Regions from separate parts of the Homo sapiens genome. Here all the other regions are linked to region 2. Evidence: promoter capture Hi-C in human tissues and cell types (Jung and others, 2019). All regions are on one chromosome and are shown on one strand. Each heading gives the region's core, a stretch centred on a gene start or on the middle of the fragment in contact. The rest is flanking DNA. Distances are from core to core; before and after follow the strand shown.

Region 1 (3,180 bases), core at 619-3,118, 100 kb before region 2:
GATGTGTGGGATTAGAGCGATAAACCTTGGAATGCAAAGAAATATTACTAAGAATTCTGTTTTTATGGCCACAAAAAGTAGCAGTGTATAATTTCCCCTGTGATCCATTCGGCTGACATATACAAAAACCTGAGTATGCTCTAATGGCTTGGAATCCTTCCCCTGCTGTTACCACAATTTAAAAGAATGAGGACTGCTCTCCATTTGTTGCAGCAATCAGGAAAGCCTTTGTCACATACCCGAACTTGGGTGGAGGCCGGCCTGGCACACAGAGTGATCAGTAAGACGACCTGTATTAGGCTTTCCTCCAGGTATAGGGGGGATGAGCAGTGGCTGACACTAGTGGCCACTGTCTACCTGACCAGCCACTCAGGAAGGTTCTACCTTGCTTTGCAGAAGTGGGCCAACCCATGAGCCACTGGGGAATGAGAGCTGTGAAAATTGAGGGTTGAAGCAAATCAACTCCCTATAGGCATTTAAAAAATAGCAGACATATTATTTCACTATAAGCCAGGGTGCCCAGGAAAGTTCAGTTCCTTTTTGAATAGCGGGTAAGTCCAGCACAGAAAGTTCCTCTAGAGGGCCTAGAGCTTAACCTGCCCCACCATTGCAGGATCTTCATTCTTGCCGGGCTCTGCTCTGCCTCACTCATTCTCATTAGGGCCACTCTGTCCTTGATGCCTTAATGCTCCATTTATTCATCAAGTAGGGGAGGAGTCTAGACTCTAAGATGAAAAAGGCATGATATGACAATATCTTGAGGTCTGAAAAAAAAGCCACCCAGGAATCATTCTCACTAGAGCCATAGCTTACTGCATAAAAACAAACAGGTAGAAAAGTAAGTGCCAAGAATTCCAAAGAAGAAAAAGTAAATAAATTCCTTAAATCAAAATATGTACTTATGATATTAGTCTGTTTCATGAACATATTCCCCATAAAACTCTCCCCTGCAGGGGCACTGGATATGGCTGTTTATCTGGGATTCTTTCATCCACGACCCACATTGTTTTCACCAAACCTCCCATTGACCAGACGTTCTCAAAATCCCCATGGCAATGTAAACCCTAAAGGGCAGGGAATTTTATCTGTTCTGCTCACTAATGACACCTAGGAACTCTAAGCATGCCTGATACACAGTGGTTACTTAATCACTACTTGTTGAATAAATGAATAAAATAATAATAACATCTGCAGTGTGATAAGATGTAACAGGTCGCAAAGCACATGCACATCTATTTCCTCACTTACTCTCCACAGTAATCCTGTGAGGTGGGGTTTTATTCTTATCTTCATTTCATAGGAGAGGAAGACAGTGTTCGGGTACTGCCTAAAGTAGCTATACTAGTAGTTCAGCATGTACTAATTGGGAGGCAATTCCAGCTCATCCAGTTCCCTTCCCATGCTTCCTCCTCCTCCTCACAACCAAGTGTGGCCTGGCTGACACATCCCTATGGCTTTGTTTCAGGTGGGTCTTTTTCGCAAATCAGGAGTGAAGTCTCGAATCCATGCCCTTCGCCAAATGAATGAAAACTTCCCTGAGAACGTCAACTATGAAGACCAGTCTGCTTATGATGTGGCGGATATGGTGAAACAGTTCTTCCGGGACCTCCCTGAGCCTCTTTTCACCAACAAGCTCAGTGAGACCTTTCTCCATATCTATCAGTGTAAGTGGAAATAATGAGATTGGTGTTCTCGTGGGCATCCTTCCACTTTAATGAAAATAATTCCCTATAGATTGAGTTTTAATTATACGAATAATACATCAATCCATAAAGATGTATGTAATCCTGCTCTCCTCTACGGAAGTAACTTTTGCTCAAAGTTTGATATGGAAATCCACAAGCCATTTTTTTATGCATTTGAAAATACCTTTTTGACATCAAAATATTCCTTCTCAAAAGAGTTTTGTGTATGATCTAAAACAAACTTTCAATACATTTACAAAAATTTAAAATGAAAAAGGGACACAATAGAAGTTGTTTTATATATAGGTATTTATTAAAACTTATTCAATTTTTTAAAAAAGTAAGCATTTCTTTGGGATATAGGAAATTCAAAGTGACATGAATTAAAATGACAGGAAATAAAAACAAATGTATTTTAGCACAAAGTATCTTCATTGGTGAAAAGTAAGCAAACCAAATCAAGTCTTAAGCTTAAATAAACTTATTTATATTTTCACTTGGATTTTTTTTAATAATGTTAAGTTCTCAGCAAAGCCTGTATAATTAAAATAATCCCTGAAAATAACAATTGTTGATTAAGAAGCATATCCTACTATAAGTGGTTGCAATGGGGGTATTAGAAATAAACACATGGGCTGGGCATGGTGGCTCACGCCTGTAATCCCAGCACTTTGGGAGGTGGAGGTGGTTGGATTGTCTGAGGTCAGGAGTTCAAGACCAGCCTGGCCAACATGGTGAAACCCCATCTCTAACTAAAAGATACAAAAATTAGCCAGGCATGGTGGCGGGTGCCTGAAATCCCAGCTACTCAGGAGGCTGAGGCAGGAGAATCACTTGAACCCAGGAGACGGAGGTTGCAGTGAGTGGAGATTGCACCACTGCACTCCGGCCTGGGTGACAGAGCGAGACTCCATCTCAGAAAAAAAAGAATGAAATTAAACACGTGACTCTTTGCTAGATATGACAATGTTAACATTATGAATTATTTTGATGGTCCAGATCCCAATTCATGGGGGAAAAAAGCCATTTGGCCCATGGACTTTGAGTTTTGAGTTTTCAGCAAAATATGCCTGAAATGGACCTTGACATGGACTTGATTCAATTTGAAGAATATCCATGCTATAGAGAATTCTGTATAAAATGTGTTTAAGGAGTCCATGATACTGCAAACTCAGAAAGGATTGTAATCAGAACCACTTGTGAAAACAGATTAAGGTGGCAACCCACTAAGTAAATATTAGTTTTTCAAAGTAAGTAGATTAAGTTAAGTTAATGGTACAAGTTGCTAGAGCCCAAACAGGGAGTTCTTGATGTTGTTGCTGTGAGAGGTTGAACTACATTTTTCAATTAAGTCTCCCTTATGGTTTGGAAGTATCAGATATGAGTCTTTTACATTTAATCAGTTCTTGGATTAAAGTTGACACTAGTCTAAGGCTAAAGCCACATTACTTTCAAGAAATAAATGTCTTTGGCCCTTTCTGAGTCACAAGCAAGA
Region 2 (3,356 bases), core at 773-3,272:
AACATTACCAGCAGCTCAGAGCACTAAGTCACCTCAATAACCCAGTACTGCTCTGCCCATATTATCTATGGCTTTAATTAAAAGTGTTTAGAAATGGTTTTAGTACTGACTTTGTTCAGAATATGTGGCTGAATTCTAAATTTAAAAATAAGTCTTCCAGTAGGCCCACAAGTGATCAGAATTGGGTACCAAAAGTTGTACATTTAAACACTTTTATTAAAATGTTTATACATGTACATAAAATATTTTATTGTGATACAAAACTCTGTACAAAGTGTACTAACAACTGACATGATTATAAATGAATCCCCAAAACAATGGTGCCTAAATTTGAACACTAAGGAGAAAAAAGGAGGAAGAAATACTTGAGACAACTTTACCATGGCATAGCAATATTTCCTGCTGTCAAAATTAATAAAATATTTTGCACAAGGGTGTTACAATTAATTTTATCAGGCTAACAATGTCATAAGTGAGGAACCCTTTCAACTGTAGAGAGCACTGTGGAAATATAGATGTGGTAGAACAATCTATATCACCCTGCAGTTGTTTCTGTGTTTCTATGACTAGCTTTGTTTGAGATTGTATAAAGCGGTCTTCACACCCCGGTGAATAAGATTGGTGGATGCAGTTCCCTGCCCTGCCGCAGAAGGGACCTCCAAACACAGTTTAAATCTGACTCTCCGGGAGTTGTGTTTTGACACTTTCACAACAGTGTGAACTTGTGCCACAAGCAAGACAGATCTTATTGGATTAACACTGAACTCGTGACAGCTCCAGAGAGTAATGCTATCTGTGCGGCTTAAGAACAAACGTGTTTCTTTCATCCACCCTGCTCATTCTCTTCCTGCAGTTACTCCTAGCAAATCCTCCCCGCCCTCACCTCTAGGAATTCCTCTACACCCAGAGAAAGGAGTTTCTTTCCTCACTGCGGAAACCTATCACCGCTTCCTTTCCACAGATGGACTCCAAGGGGCACTCACTCGTGTGCCCACTAAGGGATTTCTCTCCTAATTCCACGCCTTCCAAGGGAAGTCAGAACTGCTCAGTTTCCCCCGGTGACCACATACACGTGTCCAAGTGAAGCCTCGTCTGGGGGAGACTCAGTTCCCACACTTCCCCCTGGCCCCTGTGGAGGCCCTCTGTCTCCCCTGCGTGGCCCTCCGCCTGGCCCCTCGCACTCACCAGGAGGAGGTTGTGCGCCACCAGGTACCCGAGCCGCGGGCTGCCCCGGATGCCGGGGGCCAGGCGCCCGGTGGCGTAGCCGTGCCAGGCCACCACGTAGGGGTTGTCGATGGTGATCCAGTACTTGACCTGACCGCCGAAGTGGCGGAAGCAGAGCTCCGCGTAATCCCTGAAGTGGTCGGCCAGGGCGCGGTTGGCCCAGCCGCCGTAGGCGTCCTGCAGGCGCTGGGGCAGGTCCCAGTGGTACAGGGTGACCACGGGCTGCACGCCCAGCTCCCGCAGCCGCTCCAGCAGGCGCCGGTAGTAGCGCAGCCCCTCGCGGTTGGGGACGCCCGCGCTGCCATTGGGGAGCACTCGCGCCCACGAGATGGAGAAGCGGTAGTGAGTGACCCCGAGCTCGCGCAGCGCCTCCGTGTCGCGGAAGACGTTGTTGTAGCTGTCGCTGGCTACGTCCCCGGTGGCGGGCTGCAGCGGCGACGGGGCGCCCAACGGCAGACTGGCGTTCCGGGAGTCTCCCGGGGGTGCCAGGGGGTGGTGGGTGAACGTATCCCAGATGGACGCACCCTTGCCGTGCTGCTGCCAGCCGCCCTCGGTCTGGTAGGCGGCGCTGCCCACGGCCCAGAGGAAGCCGTCGGGGAAGGTGCCCTGGAAGAGGCCCGCGGCCTCGGGGGCAGGAGGCCGCGAGAAACGGGCCCAGGTCTGCGCGCCGTCGCCCGGCTCCGCACGCAGGCGGCGGCCGCCCAGGCCCAGCAGCACCAGCAGCAGCGACAGCGACGGCGGCGGCGGCCGCGGGCGGCGCGGCGGGGCGCTGGCGGGCATGCTGCGCGGGAGCCAGGCTCCGGGGCCCCGCGCCGCGCCCCTTTATGCCCGCGCCCCGCCGCGCCCGCCCGCCCACCGCCGGCGCGCCCACCCCCGCTCCCCGGCGGGCTCCGCTGGCAATAATTACCTGCGAGCCGGGACTGCCTCCGCCCTGGCACTGGGGGCGGGGGCAGGGGCGCCGAGGGCGAGGGGTGCCCGGGAGGGGCGCGGCAGCGGGCAAGGTGCGGCAGGCGTCGCCCGCGGACGTCGGAGAAAGGCACCTGTTTCTCCCAGCTCCCGGGAGCCGTGCAGGACGTTTCGTGGACGCTCAGGTTCATTCTCTTTGCCTGCCGCGCGTCCTCTGAGAGCAGCCCTGGAGCGGCTTCGTCGGGGAGAAAAGGCGCCGACCAACTTTCCCCGACTTGGGGGCGGGATCCTGCCGGGCCCTAGCGGAGCGCGCCGCTGGGGAAGCACCTGCTCTCACTTTTCTCCCACTCGGAGGCCCAAAGAAGCTCCGGCTGGACATTGCTGGAGCCAATTAGGGACTGGCCGAAATCCTAGAGGGACTGCCAGGTGGGACAGCCGAGGGGGAACTTCGCCGTGCGCTGAAAGGGATTCCCCCTTAGGTGAGATGCTCGCGGGGAGACGCGCCCACCCGCGCCCCTCTTTCGAGGAAGACAAAGTAGATTTATGGGTTGCGTTGGGACTGGGGTTTTGCTCTCCCTTTTACTGTTACCTTTTAATAATTTCAAACCAGCACTCTATCTTTGATTAGATCTCTCAGAATACCCTGGTGAACTTCAAATCACAGTCGTTGATTGTTCTCCTGAAAAACCAAACACCAAGTTTCCAATTTTGAGTAAATCTCATTCACCTTTATTATCCTTTGGCATCTGTGTTACCTTTCGGCTCTGACTTAGCAGGTAATCTGTGCAAAGTTGTGCGCACAGGTCTGCTGGAGCGGGAGGTCCCTGGGTCGCACATTTGCCATCTGAGCTGTGGAGGGAAAGGGGAGGGAGAATTTAGCCGGAACACCCATTCCCATCCTCTACAATACAATGGAGCCATGACGTTTTTCCTGTTGCCAAAGAGCCCTTTTGACAGAAGTTGCAGAGCCACAGTGTCCATTTGGATGTGGGTAGATAGGATTGTGGCTAACCGAAATACAGTTGGTGGAGACTGAGAAGGTCTAGGCTCCACCTTTGTGATTTGGGGCAGGAAACCTCTGTAAGCCTAAGTTTCCTCCTCTATAAAATAAGGATGTCCTGTCTGCCCTGCCGCCTCAGAGGCTTGTGAAGTCCAGTGAAAAACTGCGCAAAGGTGACTCAAAGACAGAAAGCCCAGACAAGTGAAGGATCTTGCTAATATCCCTA
Region 3 (3,688 bases), core at 550-3,049, 77 kb after region 2:
AGCAGTTTGCTAAGAAGAGACGAAGAAAATACAGTTGTAAGGAGCTCAGAATCACACAGAGGAGCTCAGACAGGAAACTGAATAACCACAGTGTGAGGCAGAATGTGATATGAGCACCAACAAAACCCTGGGGGACCCAGAGGGAAGCACAGTTCAATCCAGCAAGGAAGATGTGAGAAGTTTTCAAAGCTCATGGTGGCATGGGAGCTCTACCTTGGCAAATGGATGGGATTTCCACATGTAGAAGCTGGATGAGGGGCAGCAATTTCAGATGAAGGGCACAGCCTAAGAAAGTGCCCAAAGGTGGGAAATTGCCCAAAGGTGGGAAATTGCAGAAGATTGGCTTTGGCTGAAACATGGTTTATATGCAGACGGAAACTGTATAGGAAGAAGGAGAGGTAAGAATGCCCCTCTCCAGCACCTCCGACATCTGCTGATTTGCAGACCCAGGGGAGACTGGGATTATAAGTAGGACTCAGGATATATAGGGAGGGAAAGAGATGGGGGCTGGGTTTCTGCATCCTCTCCCTAAAGGGTAAGCATGGCTGTTGAGTCTCCACACAGTCTACAGACTGATGTCTCAAACTCAGGACCAAAGTCCTGTCCTTAAATATGTCTCTTCCTCAGGACTACCAGAGGCAGGCAAAGCAAGATCTAGCCTAAAACTAGAAGCAAGCAAAGCAAGATCTAGCCCCAAACCAGAAGCAGGCAAAGCAAGATGTGGCTCAAAATTGGAGGCCACTAAATAGTTAAAGCCCCTTGATCCCCAAATGCTGGCTCTGGCCAAGGTCTCTGCTGGGGCAGAGCACAGACAGCTGGGCCCAGGGGCCAAGCAGTCCCTGGTTGTGATCTGTGTGGTCTGGCCTGGAGCCAGCCAGCCAGCAAGAGGCCGATCCACTCACAGGGATACAGAGAGCCTCTCAGAAGCCTCAGTGCTGAATACAGGAAACAGTTGAATGAAGAGTAAAAGAAGCGGCCTCAAAATGCTGTTTCCTCGGAGAGTCAGCAAAGTTCAAAAAGGAACAGTTCCTAGGCCGGGCCACTCAGCATGGGGCTTGGAGACTGGAGAGGGAAGGAATGGGAGTAGTGGCTATGAGCCCCTGTGGGATTGTGGCACATGCATAATTCCTCGGAGGGACACTGGACCTTTGGTCCAGGCTGGCGTTTTTCCAACGCTTATGACCATAACCTAGAGTAAGAAATATACTTTACATCATGACCCAGTAGATATATACACATACCTAATGGAAATAAACATTTCATAAAACAATGCCTTATCCTTGATACATAGGATGCACTCTGATACTTTCTTTCCTGGTCTATTCTGTTGATTTAAAATTCTGGTTGCAACCCACTAAATTCATTTCACAAGGTACCAAGGGGTTACAATCCACAGTTTGAAAAACGCTAACCTAAACCCATCTGAAGGAGTTGTCGGGCTTTTTGGGAGATGGAATACAAACAACATTAAACATTTTACAGGACTTAGGCTAATCAATATCACCCAAATCTCAGATGGAATGTGTTGCAGAAGTGGGATTCAACATTCAACAGTCCTCAAATCCAGATATGTAAATCTCAGGCCTTGCTCTATTAATTCAGGGCCTGTGGACCAAGCTGTTAATGACAATCTCCTTGACCCCACGAGGCCTTCATTCATTCATTCATTCATTTAGTAAACATGTATGGAACGACTACCATGGGCCAGGTTCTCTATACTTGGTGCTGGGAATTCCGAGATTAGCAACACAGGATGCCTGAGTTTAAGGAGCCCACATCCCACAAAGGACGCTTTAGATACTTCTGGCTGCAAGCAACAGAAGACTCACATCAAAATGATTGAAACCACAAGGACATTAATCATCTCACATGGTAAAATGTACTGAAAATTGGCAGTTCCAGGGTTGCTGCACTCAACAATTTAACAGCATCAGCTCTTGGCCAGGGCTCTCTGCATCCTTCCATTCTGCCATCCCAGCATGTTGGCTACTTCTTTAGTGGCCACAAGACACTGCAGCTCCAGATAACACACTTCACAGAGCCAACATCAGAGACATTTAAAGGACCTGTTCTTCTCTTGCAGCTCTCCTTTTTTTTTTTTTTTTTTTTGAGATGGAGTCTCACACTGTCTCCTGGGCTGGAGTGCAATGGCATAATCTCGGCTCACAGCAACCTCCGTCTACTGGGTTCAAGTGATTCTTCTGCCTCAGCCTCCCAATTAGCTGGGATTACAGGCATGCACCACCACACCAGGCTAATTTTTTTGTACTTTTAGTAGAGACGTAGTTTCACCATGTTAGCCAGGCTGGTCTCGATTTCCTGACCTCATGATCCGCCCACCTCGGCCTCCCAAAGTGCTAGGATTACAGGCGTCAGCCACCATGCCTGGCCTCTTATATCTCTTTTTTTAAAGGAGGAGGCTTAACCTAGAAATCATCTAGCTTCCTGAAAGTGTGGACCTCACACTGGCAGTATCTAGTTCTGCCTCCCCTGGGGAGACATCCAGACACTCAGGCCCACCCTAGACTTACACAATCACAGTCTGCCTTGTCCCTGATTCCCAGGTGACTCATCGTCAGCCAGAAGTGCCTCACACTCTCATCCTGAAATCAGTTACTGGCAGGCAAACCAGAACTGCCATGATTGGCTTGGGCTCATCAAGATACATCCCCAGGAGCTGAAATGAAGGCCCAGCCTTCCTTGAAGCTGGTTACCTGAACAACATCAAGATTCCATCAGTAAGAAGAGGCATTAGTCTTGAAAAGCAGCAGCCTGTCAGCCAATGGAGGTGGCAAAATGGGGTTGGATGGAGCTCCTTCAAACCACCATTGCCAGAAAACTATCATTGTTTGATCTGTCTGGTGGTTCCCAGGAAGATCACTCCTAAGGCTGTCTTTTTTGATGTCACTCAGAGCTCACCTAGTGCAGGATAGCCTTTTCCCTGGGAAATTGTTTAAAACAATTAGAGGAAACTGTTAAATATCTTGGCTGCTTGAGGCAAGTGGATCTTAGGAGAGCAACCAGCAGGCTAAGCAAAAAGATTAACAGGAAAAACTGGAGAATTAGATGTCCACAGCAGGCTTAAAAAAAACTCTGATAGATTCCTGGAAGGTCATGTGCATGTGTAATGCTGTGCGTATGCCAAGGGCTGTGTTCTCAGACCGGAGAAGGACCTAAGCTTTCACACTTTTGTTTGACTCTGAGGTTCTGCATATCCAGGAATTGAAATCTAAGACAGAAGTATAAACTGCCTAGCTGAGCAATAAAGGCCTGCCCTAACATGCACACAGAGCCCCTCAACAACTACTAGAAGCTTACTGGTTCAAAGAATCTACTAAAATCTCTGTCCAATATGAAAAAAAAAGAAAGAAAGAAGGGGCGGGGAAAGGGAAAGGTTTTTAATAGGCAGCAAACAATGTGTGCAGCAGGGAAGCAGACACATAAGCAGGTGACTTGCAAAATAGTGCAAAACATGCTATAATTGAGATAGCAGATGTGCCATAAGAGCCCCAAGAATTGACTAACTGCCTTGGGGTGCTGAAGAAAATTTTACAGAAGAGGTGATATTTGCTGAAGTTCTTGAAGGATGAATAGGAGCTTTCCAGCCAATAATGGGATGAAGTGTATTCCAAGCAAAATGAATAGCATGTGTAGGGACAAATAGTGTTTGGAGCATACTTCCCTTCTG

What was found. The method cuts DNA at HindIII sites, captures the fragments that hold promoters and counts their contacts. A contact is called where the count stands out against the background at its distance.
Region 1: a contact is called between a fragment that was not itself captured here and the fragment with the promoter of KL in region 2, in 2 of the 25 tissues and cell types used here (bladder and lymphoblastoid cells).
Region 3: a contact is called between a fragment that was not itself captured here and the fragment with the promoter of KL in region 2, in 2 of the 25 tissues and cell types used here (H1 embryonic stem cells and IMR-90 fibroblasts).

The regions. Positions count from the first base shown.
Region 1 is chr13:33,116,549-33,119,728 of GRCh38, reverse strand. STARD13 (StAR related lipid transfer domain containing 13) reads left to right here. Exons shown (of 14, transcript NM_178006.4): 8 at 1,466-1,664. Among named protein-coding and RNA genes, the nearest start is that of KL, 100 kb to the right of the region's middle. The HindIII fragment of the contact is 8,860 bases long and covers 1-3,180 here.
Region 2 is chr13:33,015,089-33,018,444 of GRCh38, reverse strand. KL (klotho) reads right to left here and starts at 2,022. Exons shown (of 5, transcript NM_004795.4): 1 at 1,186-2,022. The coding sequence starts at 2,004. LOC124903151 (translation initiation factor IF-2-like) reads left to right here and starts at 1,992. Exons shown (of 2, transcript XM_047430819.1): 1 at 1,992-2,609. The coding sequence starts at 2,003. RefSeq lists enhancers at 997-1,056, 1,265-1,842, 1,843-2,418 and silencers at 1,127-1,226, 1,917-1,986. The HindIII fragment of the contact is 14,739 bases long and covers 1-3,356 here.
Region 3 is chr13:32,937,986-32,941,673 of GRCh38, reverse strand. No RefSeq gene overlaps it. Among named protein-coding and RNA genes, the nearest start is that of LINC00423, 28 kb to the right of the region's middle. The HindIII fragment of the contact is 5,547 bases long and covers 1-3,688 here.